Linked DNA regions of Homo sapiens: all the other regions are linked to region 1. The links are contacts of gene promoters, found by promoter capture Hi-C in blood cells and fetal thymus (Javierre and others, 2016). All regions are on one chromosome and are shown on one strand. The core of a region is centred on a gene start or on the middle of the fragment in contact, and the rest is flanking DNA. Distances in the headings are between cores, read along the strand shown.

Region 1 (3,085 bases), core at 323-2,822:
GGTGCCACTGCACTCTAGTCTGGGCGACAGAGCAAGACTCAGTCTCAAAAAAATAAACAAATAAATAAAAATAAGTAAATAAATAAATAAAAACTACATTGGTTCGGTGCAGAAAGACCGGAAACTTGAAGTGGGGGCTTCCACATTATAGGCAGATTTAAACATTTTCTGATTGGCAATGAGTTGAAATAGTTATTATCAATAGGCCTGGTGCGGTGGCACACGCCTGTAATCCAAGCATTTTGGGAGGCCGAGGCAAGTGGATTACTTGAGCTCAGGAGTTTGAGATGAGAGTGGACAACATGGCGAAACCCTGTGTCTACAAAAAAAATGGAAAAATTAGCCAGGCATGGTGGTGCCCGCCTGTAGTCCCAGTTACTCAGGAGGCTAAGGTAGGAGGATAGCTTGAGCCTGAAAGACAGAGGTTGCAGCGAACCAAGAACTCATCACTGGACTCCAGCCTGGGCAACAGAGTTAGACCCTGTCTCAAAAAAAAAAAAGTTATTATCAATAGAAATGAATGTCTGGGTTATGATAAGGGATTGTGGACACCAAAGTTTTATCACGCACGTGAAGCCTCCAAGTGGCAGGTGGGCTCCAGAGAGAACAGATTGTAAATGTTTCTTACCAGTCTTAAGGTCTGTTGTGTTGATGTCAATGCTGAAGGATGTAATGAGGCATGTCTCATGTCCTGCTTCCCGTCATGGCCTGAACCAGTCTCTCAGGTTGGTTACATTTTAGACTGCCCTGGCCTAGGAGGAAGTCCGTTCAGATGGTTTGGTGTTGGGGGGGGGGTGGGGGCTTAGTTTTTTGTTTTGTTTTGTTTTGTTTTTTTGGCTTACAGAGTTTAGACTGAAGCCTTTGACTCTGTATCTGGCATTTCCTTAGACCACATGCTGTAGGGCTGGGCTCATGAAGGTTCTCACCTACACACCAGGTTGCTCCCTTGAGAAGGGGGACTTTGCTGGATCCTATAACCTAGCTAGTAGGAAGTAAAGGAGCTTGGGAACCAGACAAGCCTGAGTTTAAATCCTCTTTCCCGCGCCGCCCCACCTCCACTGATAGGTGTGTGACTCCGGGCAAATAAGTGATCGTTTTCTGTGCCTCAGTTTCCTCATCTGAAAAGTGGAGCTAGTAAGAACTCACAGTGGTTGCTACGAGGCTACGGTTAAGGGAAGACTTCTCCTGCACACCTCAAGCACAGTTTCCCTCCCCTTGGCGATATCCAAGAGCACTCACATCCGCCACAGCCCTCTCTGCTCATCGGGCCCTCGGGGTAGAAGTGAGTTAATTCCTGGCTAAATGTTAGTCTCAAACCACCGGGAAAACCACCCAGTTGCCCCAGACAGTGCAGCGGAGGGTGGGTGCGGCTATCAGGTCGACGCTAGAGACGCGGCGAAGGCGGGTGCGGAGGCCTAGCTCCCCCGAGCGCATTCCACCCTCCACAGAACCTCGGCCTGTGACCACGGCCTTTCTCAACACTGCGCCGCCCCCTGGCCGCCCCTCGCCATCCCGCCGCGCTGACGTGAGTGCGCGCGCGTCCGCCGCGCCCGCCCCGGCGCATGCGCGCTCTGCGCTGTCTTCTCCCGGCCTGAGCAGCAGCAGCTGCGGCGGCGGCGGCGTTTGAGTGGAGGAAGATGGCGGCTCCGGGCGGCTCGGGGTCCCGCCAGCTGTGAGGAGCCCCGAGCACGGCTGTCGCGGCCTGAGGCAGAGCGCCTCTGCTCTGGCCCTGTCCCTGGCTCCCTCATTACCGTCGCCAGCGGAGCGAACCCGAGAGCGTGGAGCGGGCTGGGCCAGGTGAGGCCTCTCCTCCTCCCCGGGCCGCAGAGGGGAGCCGGCGCCTTCTGCCCTTTATGCCCGGGACTGGCAAGGGGCAGCGGGCGCCCGGGGTCTGACGCAGGCCCCGTATCCCACGCGGGGGTCGGTCCTGGTTGGGCAGGGTGACTTGCTATCGCCGTCCTCGAGTGAGGCGAGGAGGAGGACAGCTCCTTTCCAGCCAGCCCTTGGGTTGGGAGCGAACCCACCCCCTCTCCTCAGCAGGGTGGTTCTCGTCCCCTCACCCGGGCAGTGAAGGGGTGTGTGGCCCGGGCAAGGATGGCTTTAGGGTGTCAGGTAATCTTTCATCGCTCCTCCGAACATTTCACTCCTTTGCGAGAGAGGAGTCGGGGGTCGGGTGCCCATCAAAATTGGGGCTGCGGCTGGGGGCTAGCATCTCTGAACCTGCAGCTGCAAAGGGATAATTTTGGAATTGGTTTACGTTAAATAAAACACAAAAGGCCTTTCCTATCCCCTAGCTTGTTGAGTGTTCCCTTAGAGAAATGGGAACTGCGGATCTCCTTGCTTGAGACAGCAATCCATGCTGTGACTGTGGAAGGCTTCTCTTGGCGAGAATTGTGTGTGCAAAGGGAACGGTGGAGGGTGGGAACGAATTTGTAAGCGAAGAGAAAACGATTGTGAGATCTTGATGGTCGCTGCAGAGTAACTTCAGCGCTGAGTTCGTTTGAAACCTTCGGTTTGTTAAGATTCAGAATAACCAATTGCTTTGTCTGTTAAATCTCCCGATTTCTGTTAGGAAAATAAAAGCCTCATTTCTTAATTGCCAGAGTCTGGATTTTTCTGTGGTGGGATTCTGATCGATCTAGATGAAGATTCTGACACATTACCAGTTTTACTTGCTGGCAGTTGCTGGCCCCGACGTTGAAACTATGTTGTTCCTTTTTGAGAACAACTTTTATTGCTGTTTAAATGCTAATTGGGAGACTTCGATTGTGTTTCTGTCATGTAGGGAAGTCGGTTTGAAGCCTTGTGGTCTCTTTCTTGAGGAATGATGGCTTCACTGAACTTGTGCTATGCAGAATTGTTGAGGCGATTGCTTTTGCTTGGACACACCAAAATATCTTTTGTAACAAATTGGCTTTACTTCTGCTTAAGAATGATGACATCATGGATTTAAAGAGGCAAGGAAAATTTGGGGGAAGTACCATCATTTAGAATTGAATATTTAGAATTAAGTCTGTATATCTTATGGCCATTAGTGATGCTGTGTTAAATTGCTAACTTTGAGTGTATTCACGTGTGTAATCTG
Region 2 (3,085 bases), core at 396-2,895, 510 kb after region 1:
CTCAAGTGATCCACCTGCCTAGGCCTTCCAAAGTGCTGGGATTACAAGTGTGAGCCACTGCGCCCAGCCCAAAATATAAAAATAAAATAAAATATATATAAAATATAAAAAAAATTCTTCTTTTTTTCTTTTGAGATGGAGTCTTGCTCTGTCGCCCAGGCTGGAGTACAATGGTGCCACCTCAGCTCACTGCAACCTCCACCTCCCAGGTCCACACGATCCTCCCACCTCAGACTCCCTAGTAGCTAGGACTAAGGTGCACACCACCACACCCAGCTAATTTTTGTATTTTTAGTAGACACAGGATTTCACCATGTTGGCCAGGCTGGTCTGGAACTCCTGACCACAGGAGATCCACCTGCGTATTTCTTCTTAAAGGCATCATATAAAATATATAAAAGGCATCATATAAAATCATATAACTGGCCAGGCACAGTGACTCATGTCTGTAATCCTAGCACTTTGGGAGGCCGAGGCGGGTGGATCACAAGGTCAGGAGTTCAAGACCAGCTTGGTCAAGATGGTGAAACCCCATCTCTACTAAACATACAAAAAAATTAGCCAGGTGTGGTGGCGGGCGCTTAGAATCCCAGCTACTCGGGAGACTGAGACAGACAATTGCTTGAACCCAGGAGGCAGAGGTTGCAGTGAGCCAAGATCGTGCCAGTGCATTCCAGCCTGGACGACAGTGAGACTGCATCTCAAAAAATAAGTAAATAAAATAAAATAAAATAATATAATATTAACTAGCTATAAAATGAACAAAGCCCCAACCACATGAGAATTTGACAATACCAACAAACTCGTACTATTAGAACCAAATTTTTTCCCCAAAATAACAGAAAATAAAACGCAACACCACTGTAATATTATTAAAGGGTGTTTGATCTCGGCAGTGAGCCAAGATCGCGCCATTGCACTCCAGCCTGGGCAACGAGCGAAACTCCATCTCTAAATAAATAAATAAATAAATAAATTATCAGAACTCCAAAGAATTGAAAATATTAGCTAGCTAGTCCTCTAGTTCTTTTTTTTTTTTTTTTTTTTTTTTTTGAGACAGGGTCTCCCTCTGTCGCCCAGGCTGGAGTATAGTGGTGCAATCTTAGCTCACTGCAACCTCTGCCTCCCAGGCTCAAGCCATCCTCCCACCTAGTAGCAGAGTCTACAGGCGCACACCACCAGGCCCAGTTAATTGTTTTTGGTATTTTTTTGTAGAGGCGTCTCCATATTGCCCAGGCTGGTCTTGAACTCCCGAACTCAAGGGATCTGCCAGCCTTGGCCTCCCAAAGTGCTGGGGTTATAGGTGTGAGCCACTGCACCCAGCGCAGATCCATTCTTTAAGCAAGCTAATACTTTATAACAGAGCCAGGCACGGTTGGCTCACGCCTGTAACCCCAGCACTCTGGGAGGCCCAGACAGGTGGATCACCTGAGGTCAGGAGTTCCAGACTAGCCTGGCCAATATAGTGAAACCCCGTCTCTACTAAAAATACAAAAATTAGCTGGGCATGGTGGCATGCACCTGTAATCCCAGCTACTCAGGAGTCTTAGGCAGGAGAATCACTTGAACCTGGGAGGAAGAAGTTGCAGTGAGCCTGGGCAACAGAGTGGACTCCGATAAAAAAAAAAAACACTTCATATGGTACTTTACTGTTCAACCCTCTAAGAAAGCTAAATAATTTATTCCGTGTTATTTTTAGTTTTTCAGAAATGAATATACTGGCTGATATATTTTTAAATCAGTTCTTAAGTTTCTACCATTGTTTATTTCTGGAAAGTTGCTAAAAGTAACATTTTTCCCCCTGTGAGGAAATACTGGCAATATACTTAATACTAAGAATTACTAATGCAGTTTACCAATATTTGTGTAATTGAGTGGAAAATAGACTGGAAAGATATTTGCAAATGTTAATCATGGTTAATGCCTATGTGGTAGAATTTGAATTTTTTAAAAAAATTTTATTCCTGGCTGGGAGCAATGGCGCATGCCTGTAATCACAGTACTTTGGGAGGCTGAGGCCAGTGGATCACCTGAGGTCAGGAGTTCGAGACCAGCCTGGCCAACATGGTGAAACCCCGTCTCTACTAAAAATACAAAAATTAGGGCCGGGCGCGGTGGCTCACGCCTGTAATCCCAACACTTTGGGAGGCCAAGGTGGATAGAACACAAGGTCAAGAGTTTGAGACCAGCCTGGCCAATATGGGGAAACCCCGTCTCTAATAAGAATACAAAAATTAAGGCCGGGCACAGTGATTCACACCTGTAATCCCAGCTACTCGGGCGGCTGAGGCAGGAGAACTGCTTGAACCCAGGAGGCAGAGGTGGCAGTGAGCCAAGATCACACCACTGCACTGCAGCCTGGGCAACAGAGCAAGACTCTGTCTCTAAAAAAAAAAAAAAATTATCTGGGCAGGGTGGCGTGTACCTCTAATCCCAGCTACTTGGGAGGCTTAGGCAGGAGAATCGCTTGAACCCGGGAGGCAGAGGTTGCAGTGAGCTGAGATCATGCCACTGCACTCCAGCCTGGGTGACAGAGCAAGACTCCATCTCGAAAAAAAAAAAGAATACAAGTGCCTGGCACGGTGGCTCACACCTGTAATCCCAGCACTTTGGGAGGCCGAGACGAGCGGATCATGAGGTCAGGAGACAGAGACCATCCTGGCTAACACGGTGAAACCCCGTCTCTACTAAAAATACAAAAAATTAGCCGGGCTTGGTGGCGAGTTCCTGTAGTCTCAGCTACTCAGGAGGGTGAGGCAGGAGAATTGCTTGAACCTGGGAGGTGGAGGTTGCCATGAGCCGAGATCGCGCCACTGCACTCCAGCCTGGGCAACAGAGTAAGACTCCATCTCAAACAAAAAAAAAAATTAGCCGGGCATGGTGGTGGCCACCTGTGATCACAGCTACTTGGGAGGCTAAGGCAGGAGAATCACTTGAACCCGGCAGGCAGAGGTTGCAGTGAGCCGAGATCAAGCTACTGCACTCCAGCCTGGGCAAAAGAGTAAGACTCCATCAAAAAAAAAATTATTCCTCTATATTTTCTAAGTTTTTCTTTGGTTAACAGGTATTACTTTTATTTTATTAT
Region 3 (3,085 bases), core at 334-2,833, 310 kb after region 1:
TGACACAGTGGGTGCCAGGACTGCTGCCCCTACCAGAAAGCCGTTGACCTGCCGACCCTCCGCATCCCTGCCTGTACTGGGAGGTTCCTGGGGGACAGGGAGTATGGAGGGGGCTGGCAGCTACAGCTTTCACCTGCATCCCCGCAGAGTCCATAGCTTAGAGAGCACCAGGATCTAGCAGACTCCTGCGTGTCCCAGGACCTGTGGCGCCAGGTATCCTCTGGGTCCCCAGCAATGCTCCTGGCCCACTGGCTGCTAGCCCAGCCTGGGAGCTGGCCCTCACTGGCTGTGGGCACCAGCCCCTGGGGTTGCAGTCAGCCTCCTTCTGTGGTCCCTACTTGCTCTGCCCCGTAGCTGAGGGGACAGTCAGGTCTCAAAGTGAACAAAGCACATGGGGCTCCAAGGAAAGGTGCCAAGTGTAGGCTGCCCCAGCCCCTTGCTGTGGCCCCAGCTGTCCCAGCAGCTAACCCCCACGTCCCCTCATTGGCACAGGTAGGTGAGGGAGAGGCCTGGGTGGAAGATGGGCACAGTGACCAGGCCTTGGGCTGTATCTCCCGAAAGGCAGAGGGCAGATGCCCGGCCCATCTGACCCACAGACAGCTGGACAGACAGACCCCTTCCCTCCCTGCCACCCAGGAGACTTTGGGCAGTCATGTCCTGGACAAATGCCAGGAGGAGGGTGGTTCCTGGGCAGGGAGGTGGGGTGGGAGCTGGGCAGGAATGATGTCCTGAGTGGTCCTCCAGGGGGAAGGGAAGAGGACCTGGCTCTCACCTCGGATGCCTCGGCGGATGCGGGGACAGGGGCCCCACAGCTCCTGCAGAGTCACAGGGTTCCCTGAGGAGCCTTCACGCAGCCCCACAAACTCCTCCATCAGGCCCCTGGAGAAGCGGATAGAGGGAGGGACCGCGGTGAGCTGCTGCACGTCCTCGCACTGCCTCTAGGCCCTTCCAGTGCTCTCCCCACCCATGAAGAGGAAAGATTGTGCGTGTGTGTGTGTGTGTGTGTGTATGTGAAGTTATCACACTAGGTCTGTGTGTGCCTTCATCCCTGAGTTTCCGTCACTGAGGGTGTGTGCCTGTGTGTGTCATTGTGTGGGATGGGGGTGGGATTCCTAGGTGTCCCCCTGTGTCCAGCAGCAGACTGGGCACAGGCCGGAGCCCAAGCCCTGCTCAGAGCCCCTTCCCCTTCGGTGGCAGCCGCTCCCACCCTCCTGGGTCACTTGGCGCTTCCACTGCTGGGAGCAGTCTCTGCCCAGGGCTGTGACACTCTCACTGCAGAGTCCCATGGATGGCTCTGACTCTCCCTGTCCACCTATGAGCACCCCTGACCCCAGCTCAGGCCACAGAGGCAGCAAAACCCCAGGCCCAGAAGAAGATCCCACCAGGGCCAAAGTGAGGTGCTGGCTCCTGCCCTTACCACCCCCCCCCCCCCGCCCTGCCTGTCTGGCCCTGGCAGGCCCCAGCATCTTGCAGCGACCCCTCACCTGTCAGTCCTCCTGCTGTGGCTGAGCTGGCCCTCCTCTCACAGAGCCTCCAGCTCCCCTGCACCTGGACAGGTGTGTGTTCCAACAATCAACATCCTCCCCCCTTTCCCGCCTGGGCCCAGGGTTTATGGCGAACACTTAGAATGTCCTTGAAAACCGATCAGAACTGCCCAGGCCGGAGCAGAGCAGAGCAGAGCTGCCAACAGGGAGGGGAACAGGAGCCTCCCCACCCACCATAGCTGCACAGAGGGTGGTGCCCAGCTGTACTCAGGCTCCTGGGTGCTGCTGGACGGGGGCTGGGAAGGGGGAGCTCACGCACACAGCAGGACAGAGAGGGGTCATCTGCCAAGGCTGAGGCTCAGGGTCCAGGGGTCTCAGAGCTGGACATGGAAGGTTTGGAAAAGCACAGAGGGAGAGGGGAGGAGGCTGGGCAGAGAAGGAGAAAGCAGGCCGGCAAAGGTGAGTGGGGCCAGCATGACCACAGCCTCCCTGTGTGCCAGGTAGAGAGTCAGCCTTCCCCTAGATTAATTACCCTGAGTGCCCACGGAAATCCCACGAGGCAGGCAGCGTGATCCCGTTGTAGAGAAATGGTGTCTCAGGGAGGTGGGGCTGCCCGTCTAAGATCACGGAGGCCGAGGCAGCGCCAGGATTCCCAGCCCAGGTTTGCCTGGCTCCAAAGCCCGCAGGCTGTGCCACACGGTCCCATCCTGATGACCCATCTTGTCCAGGGCTGGCGAGGAGGCCGACACCTGGGGCAAGGCAGTGAATTGGGGTCAGGAACTCAGACTTGATCCTGTGTCCAGACCCTCCAGGCTCAGGAAATGCCTCTCAAAGCACACGTCCAAGGGCCAGCGGCTCTGGTGGGGACTTCTGGGTAATTCCACAGAGTTTGTCCCACCCCAACAGAGGATGGCAGCACAGGTGTGAGGGGACATGGCGAGGAACAAGCACGTGCCGTGTGCCTGCAACGTGTCAGAAGCGTCACATCCGCAGCTCAAGTCCTCCTCCCCACACCCTGTGAATGGGGAGAGCCTCGCCATTTTGTAGATGGTCAGAGAGGTGAGTCACTCATCCAAGGTCACACAGCAGAGGCTGAACCCAGCCCCACACTGTGCAGCTCTTCCCCTGCCCAAAGCTCCTCCAGCTCCTGAGGCTGAACCAGGGCAATGGTTTGGGCACAGAACAGAAGAGTTGTGTCTGATGCCACTTTGGGGCAAGATGTTGGGGGCAATTGCCTCCAGTCCTACCCAGACAAAGCCACTCTCTGAATAACATGATGGCCCTTGGATGATTGTTAAAATCTGGGACCCTGGGCCACCCTTTGCCCCTAGATGCCAGGCAAGTCAAATCAAAATTGAAGGTGTGTGTTGTGGGAGGTGGGATGGGGGTTGCCGCTCTGCATGAACCCGAGCCCACCTTCATCTTGGCCACCCTGACCTGTTGACTCTGCACAGCACCAGAACTGGCTGCCCTGTCAACATCCGGATCCCCAGTGTCTGGTCTGGGGCAGCTGCTGGCTACTGTCCCACAGCCGGCACTGCATGTCCACATCCACCCTCACCCCCCAGCCCTGTGTGCCCCAGGAGGCTGAGAAGAGGGCA

The links. The method cuts DNA at HindIII sites, captures the fragments that hold promoters and counts their contacts. A CHiCAGO score of 5 or more calls a contact.
Region 2: a contact is called between a fragment that was not itself captured here and the fragment with the promoter of FBXO42 in region 1, in 1 of 17 cell types (non-activated CD4 T cells). The highest score is 5.2, in non-activated CD4 T cells.
Region 3: the fragment with the promoter of CLCNKB here is called in contact with the fragment with the promoter of FBXO42 in region 1 in 2 of 17 cell types (endothelial precursors and total CD4 T cells); the score reaches 9.3 in endothelial precursors.

The regions. Positions count from the first base shown.
Region 1 is chr1:16,350,967-16,354,051 of GRCh38, reverse strand. FBXO42 (F-box protein 42) reads left to right here and starts at 1,572. Exons shown (of 10, transcript NM_018994.3): 1 at 1,572-1,797. RefSeq lists an enhancer at 1,533-2,307. The HindIII fragment of the contact is 4,914 bases long and covers 1-3,085 here.
Region 2 is chr1:15,840,125-15,843,209 of GRCh38, reverse strand. The region is part of intron 1 of SPEN-AS1 (SPEN antisense RNA 1); the gene reads left to right. Among named protein-coding and RNA genes, the nearest start is that of SPEN, 6.0 kb to the left of the region's middle. The HindIII fragment of the contact is 5,451 bases long and covers 1-3,085 here.
Region 3 is chr1:16,042,280-16,045,364 of GRCh38, reverse strand. CLCNKB (chloride voltage-gated channel Kb) reads right to left here and starts at 1,583. Exons shown (of 20, transcript NM_000085.5): 1 at 1,485-1,583; 2 at 773-879. The coding sequence starts at 872. The HindIII fragment of the contact is 13,884 bases long and covers 1-3,085 here.